Regions from separate parts of the Homo sapiens genome. Here region 2 is linked to region 1. Evidence: promoter capture Hi-C in 16 types of primary human blood cells and fetal thymus (Javierre and others, 2016). All regions are on one chromosome and are shown on one strand. Each heading gives the region's core, a stretch centred on a gene start or on the middle of the fragment in contact. The rest is flanking DNA. Distances are from core to core; before and after follow the strand shown. Region 1 holds the start of CAMTA1-AS1 (CAMTA1 antisense RNA 1). Region 2 overlaps CAMTA1 (calmodulin binding transcription activator 1).

The links. The method cuts DNA at HindIII sites, captures the fragments that hold promoters and counts their contacts. A CHiCAGO score of 5 or more calls a contact.
Region 2: a fragment that was not itself captured here is called in contact with the fragment with the promoter of CAMTA1-AS1 in region 1 in 2 of 17 cell types (M2 macrophages and M1 macrophages); the score reaches 7.7 in M2 macrophages.

The regions. Positions count from the first base shown.
Region 1 is chr1:7,440,050-7,443,164 of GRCh38, reverse strand. It overlaps CAMTA1-AS1 (CAMTA1 antisense RNA 1), which reads left to right and starts at 1,548. Exons shown (of 2, transcript NR_187278.1): 1 at 1,548-2,077; 2 at 2,317-2,598. All of the region lies in intron 5 of CAMTA1 (calmodulin binding transcription activator 1), which reads right to left. The HindIII fragment of the contact is 2,325 bases long and covers 1-2,292 here.
Region 2 is chr1:7,545,844-7,548,825 of GRCh38, reverse strand. The region is part of intron 6 of CAMTA1 (calmodulin binding transcription activator 1); the gene reads right to left. Among named protein-coding and RNA genes, the nearest start is that of CAMTA1-AS1, 110 kb to the right of the region's middle. The HindIII fragment of the contact is 685 bases long and covers 1,234-1,918 here.

The sequences.
Region 1 (3,115 bases), core at 299-2,798:
TGCTTTGCAGCCGTCATCCAGGGCTTTGACTTGGGTAGAGACACAGTATACTTGAGCTGGGAGGGACAGTTCTGTTGGAGTGAATGAGGCCAAGAAGTCAGGAGGAGGATCTGCGCAGGGGCAAGGAGAGACCACAGGCAGGAAGAAGTGTTCAAAGACAGGGATGGAAAGGACATCCTGAGTCCAGGAGGTCAACAGAGAATGTGGCATCTGGGAAGGCCAGGGCAGTAGCACTGTGTCATAGCCCTTGAGTCTCAGTGTCTGCCTTCTCCATAAGAACACCAGCTCTGGGGGCAGGGACCATGCTTGCTTTATTCCTTGCCAATCTCTAAATACCAGCACAGTACTGACATACAGTAGGTGCTCAATAAATGTTTGTAAACTAGATAAAAAGTGCCTCATAGATATTGTCTCATTTACTCTTAACAACAACCCAGTGGAATCAGGATTATCAGCATCCGCATTTTGCCAGTGAGGGAATGGAGGCTCTGGGAGATTGAGAACCTCAGCCAAGTCACGCGTTGAGTAAACCATGGAGGCAGGATTTGCACCCAGGGCTGCTCTGACCCTCAAACCCATATTCTCAACCCGTGTGCCACTTTGCTTTGGCCTCTTTTTCTAGCAGATTCTTTATCTCTTGGAGCTGCTGCTACCACCTCCATGAATACAACCGGGCCATTGGTATGCGAACCTACGTGCTCCCTGTACCGGCTGCCTGCTCATCTATGCATATTTCGTTATTAAAATGGGGATACTTCAATCTCCGAATAATTTTGTCTTTAGGGAAGCTCCGTCCCCAGCTGCCCACAGCGAAAGCCCCCAGGAAGCAGGCACCTACTTGTGATTCAGGCCACCGTGTCCATCTGTCAACACGGTTGTCTCCTGTATCTGCCATCTCTTATTTATAATCCCGCTCAGATTAATGAATGACAGTAGTTCTCATCACAGGAAATTTGATTAATCAATTTAAGTGCTTAATCACCACAGCCTTGCTGAGCGCTGAGCATAAGGGATCTCACTTTGATGCAGATGAATTTCAGGAAGAACTGGGAGAGTAGAAACAAAATTGTCAGCACTTCTCCATGGAAACCCCATGGAGGTTTCAGGGCTGAGGACAGCGCTGGGGAAGTCCTGGGGCCCCCAGAAGCCAGAGGTGGGGTAACAAGAGGATGGGTGGATGACTTACGCAGGGAGCAGCCCTCTGAAACCGCCGGAATCGAGGCCTCCTTTGCACCTTGATTCCACCCAGAGTCTGCGCCTACGCTTTGGGCAGGGGAGGCAGAACCCACGTTGGTCTAAGAGCAGGGAGAAGTGGGCATGATCCTACCATGCTGCAGGGCCTCGGGATGGGGATGGGATTTGCTGCTCTTTGTGCCCAATTAATGAGCGAGACGAACAAGCACACTGAGTAGCTTCCTGCCAGCCGTCCCCTTTGGCAGCAAACTCATCCCCACCTCTGGGCCTTGGCTCGAGTTGTTAGCCAACTCAACCTTGAAGCCGTCCCTTCCTATCAGCCCATGCAAATTCTGCCATCAGCCAAGGACCGCCTCTTCCTCTTCCGGGAAGCTGACTTCAAGCCATGCCCTTCCCTTTTGCAAGCTCCCGTGGCTCGCGACCCGCAGCCCACCCCTGCACCAGTGGACACTGCGGGATGGCCTGGCCTCGGCTCTGCATTTTCACTTCTCTTAGCTCTCATCTCCTCCACCACAGAGACAGCTCTGTCTGAGTATCTTTCTGATACTGTTCTTTATCCCCCAGGACTGGCCCAGCCCAGGGCGGTGCGTACAGCAGACACTTAATGTAACACAGTAGCAGCTTTTAATTTCTCAGGCCAATGAGATACAGACAGTCACTGGTATGGTAGTTTTTCAGTCAAGCATCAAGGGTGTGTGCCCCTGGGGGACATTGCAAAATGCTGGGTGTGGGGAGCAGTTTGAACAGCAACATTCAATATTACACCATGTTTTCATTTTTCAAATGCAGGAAGAACTTATTAGTTTGAATTACAAACAACAGAAGTAGAAAACTCCACAAGGAAAAATCTCAGCTGGTGAAGAAGCTCAGGAGCTCACAGAAGGTGAGCACTTGGGGGTAAGTGGGCTGGGCACCTCAGGAGTTTTGTGATGTCCAAAAGGAGATGTGGGTGACGTAGGGTTTAAAACCCGCACCTGTAGGACCAGTCAAATGGAGACAGAGTTGGCTTCCCAGAGCTACCGCAAGGGCACGAGGTAGGAGGACCAAGCTACCAGTTACTGAATGGGCACTGAGCAGCTATAATGTGTGCACTAAGCTTGTCCTGTCTTAATCCCAAAACAGTGTGATGAAGTAATCAAACCATCGCCATCGGCTAAGGAAACCGAGGGGTGCAGAGCTGATGTCGCTTGGCCCGCAAGCCACGGAGAGTGGGAGCAAGAGGAGGTTTGGTCAGGCTGCCTCTGCCCCTGTCTTTCTCGGCCCACAGGCTCCAAGCAGGCAGGACCAGACCGCAGCTTCCAGGTGCTGGGATCCGGGGACCACACCTTCACCTGCTGCTCTCTTGAAGGAAAAACAAATATCTGCCTCTGGCAGGTAAAAAAAAAATAAAAGGAGTGCGTCTCATGCTGTTTGTGATAGCTGCTACACAGAGAAAGACTAATTTTGGAAACCGATTATTAAAAAATATATTCACTCTGAACGACGCAATCAATCAAACCTTCAAGATGCAGGTTCAGCCGGTGCCGTGGAACTCCCAGGCAACACACGGCTCCTTCCCAGGCTGCTGTCTGGCCCGGCCAGGCCTCCTTCCCACTGGGACTGTCCCAGCTCTGCCCTGGGGACATTGGCCTCCGGCCTGCCCAGGCTGCAGTGAGGATGGAGAGGGAAGAGGTCGGGGCTCCCGATTGCTGACTGGTCAGGAGGCAGCTGCGGAGTCAGGATTGAAGCCGCATCGGCTCCCATGCCATGAAGTGGACAAAGTGGACACCTCTCCCCACCAGGTAGTGGGCACAGAGCCCAAGACACACTGGTAGGAGCAGTCCCTAGCCTGCCCTCTCGCCTATGCCACGGGGCCAGTGCCACCTGAGCCATGGGCTAATGTGCCAGAGATGTGGGGCACATGGGATGCCCAGTGCGGGTA
Region 2 (2,982 bases), core at 327-2,826, 110 kb before region 1:
CCTAAGGGGTGCCCTCCACCAGCACCTCCGCCCCTAAGGGACACCTCCATGGGCATCTCCACCTCTAAGAGGAACCCTGCAAGGGCACCTCCACCCCTAAGGAGGCACCCTCCATGGGCACCTCCACCCCTAAGGGGGCACCTTCCATGGGCATCTCCACCCCTAAGGGGGCACCCTCCACCAGCACCTCCACCCCTAAGGGGATACCTTCCATGGGCATCTCCACCCCTAAGGGGACACCCTACACCAGCACCTCCACCCCTAAGGGGCACCCTGCACGGGCACCTCCACCCCTAAGGGGGCACCCTCCACCAGCACCTCCACCCCTAAAGGGGCACCCTCCACCAGCACCTCCACTCCTAAGGGGGCACCCTCCACCAGCACCTCCACTCCTAAGGGGCACCCTGCACGGGCACCTCCACCCTTAAGGGGTGCCCTCCATGGGCACCTCCATTCCTAAGGCGCACCCTGCATGGGAATCTTCCTCCTTAAGGAGGCTTGCCAGACCCTCCCACAGTCTACAGAAGAGGGCAAGGAGTTGGGGGAGGTGGCAAAGGAGCTGCTGGAAACTGTAGACATGTGCCCAACACAGAGGGTCGAAAACCACAGAGCAGACCCAGAACTGTGCTTCCTCAGTACCCATACAGGGCATGACCAGTGACCTGGTTAATGCCTGTTGCCCAGCATAACTGTCAACTTTTATTGTTTGCAATTGTTAATTCTTATTTCTCTCTCAAAACGATATGGTCACCTGATCAATATAAATGCTCACACTGACCATCTTAAGTCGGGGCCAGCATATGTGTGGCAGGAACCCTTCCTGTCCCTCTGTTCATGGCAGACATTACTAATCAATCACGTCACTGTTTCCCCTGAGCCTGGAGATGGCTTCAGAATCCTCCTTACAACAGCATAAGGGCATATTGACGGGTGAGTGGGGGGTCCACACAGTGGAGTGCCCTTGCAAGGGGTGTCAGAGTCTGGGTTTGGAGGGGGCCCACATGGGGTGGCAGAGATGTGAGACTGGTTGTGTACAGGGAGATTATGTTGGAAGAATAATTCTCTTAGGCCACACATAAATATACTAACACTAACGGTAGCTGATGAGCTAAAAAAAAAAAAAATTGCAAAAAAGTCTCATAATGTTTTAGGAAAGTTTATGAATTTGTGTTGGGCCACATTCAAAGCTGTCCTGGGCCACAGGCAGCCCACAAGCCATGGGTTGGACAAGCTTGATTTAAATCATCTTTAGATTACTTATAATACCTAGTAACAATGTAAATGCTATGTAAATATTTCTTATACTGTTTTATTTAGGGAATAATCATAAGAAAAAAATATGTTTGGTACAAATGCAATTTTTTTCCTGGATATTTTTGGCCCGTTGTTGGTTGAATCCACGGATGCGAAACTCATGAATGTGGAAGGCCAACTCTGTGTGTGTGTGTGTGTGTGTGTGTGTGTGTGTGTGTGTGTGCATATGATACATATATTCCCCAGCTCTATCTACTGAGAGAGGCCTGGGAGCAGTGAGCATACTCAGGCCCAGATCTTGGCTTCTAAACACCACTTTCCACTAAAAGAAACCAGGTTTCTTTGGAGAAATGGTTGATTTCAGGAAAGTACAAGATATGCCTGGAACATCTTGTTCAGAAAGCAAGGAAGTGCTCAAAGAATGATTGGGCTTATATCAAATGACCCAGAAACCAGCTTGAATGGAGGTCCACCAACCAAATCTGAGACAACATGAACACTGAAATAAATAACAATGGTAATAGATTATAATCCATTGAATAAAATAAGGTTATACATAAACAAATGAATAAAAACTGAAAGTCTGATGGGGAATACTTGCATATACTATGAAAGTACTTTCTCACAAAATATTTATTAACTACAAACAGAAAATGAGTAAGCTTACAGTGGAGAAGCCTTGCAGACACCACCTGAATTAAGTGGTCAAGGTGAACATCACCAGTCATGAGTAAAATGGAAATCCTGCATCAACAGACACTTTTCAAAATAAGACGTTCGTCCAGCCAACAAGCATATGAAAAAGTGCTCAACGTCACTGATCATTAGGGAAATGCAAATCAAAACCACAATGAGATACCATCTCATGCCAGTCGGAATGGTGATCATTAAAAAGTTAAAAAACAACAGATGCTGGCGATGTTGCAGACAAGAAGAAACGCTGTTACACTGTTGGTGGGAATGTAAATTAGTTCGGCTATTTTGGAAGACAGTGGGGCAATTCTTCAAAGATCTAGAAGTGGAAATACCATTTGACCCAGCAATCCCATTACTGGTTATATACCCAAAGGAATAGAAATCATTTTGTTATAAAGATACATGCATGTGTATGTTCATTGCAGCACTATTCACAATAGCAAAGACACAGAATTAACCCAAATGCCCATCAATGATAAACTGGATTTTAAAAATGTGGTACATATACACCATTGAATACTATACAGCCATAAAAAGGAATGAGAACATGTACTTTGCAGGGACATGGATAGAACTGGAAGCTGTTATCCTCAGCAAACTAATCCAGGAATAGAAAACCAGGCCGGGCGCAGTGGCTCACGCCTGTAATCCCAGCACTTTGGGAGGCTGAGGTGGGTGGATCACGAGGTCAGGAGATCGAGACTATCCTGGCTAACACGGTGAAACCCTGTCTCTACTAAAAAATACAAAAATTTAGCCAGGCGTGGTGGCAGGTGCCTGTAGTCCCAGCTACTCGGGAGACTGAGGCAGGAGACTGGTGTGAACCCGGGAGGTGGAGCTTGCAGTGAGCTGAGATTGAGCCACTGCACTCCAGCCTGGGCGACAGAGCGAGACTCCGTCTCAAAAAAAAAAAAAAAAGAAAAGAAAAGAAAACCAAACACCACATGTTTTCACTTGTAAGTGGGAGCTGAACAATGAGAACACATGGACATGTCCGGGGGGACAACACACACTGGGGCCTGGTGGTGGGGG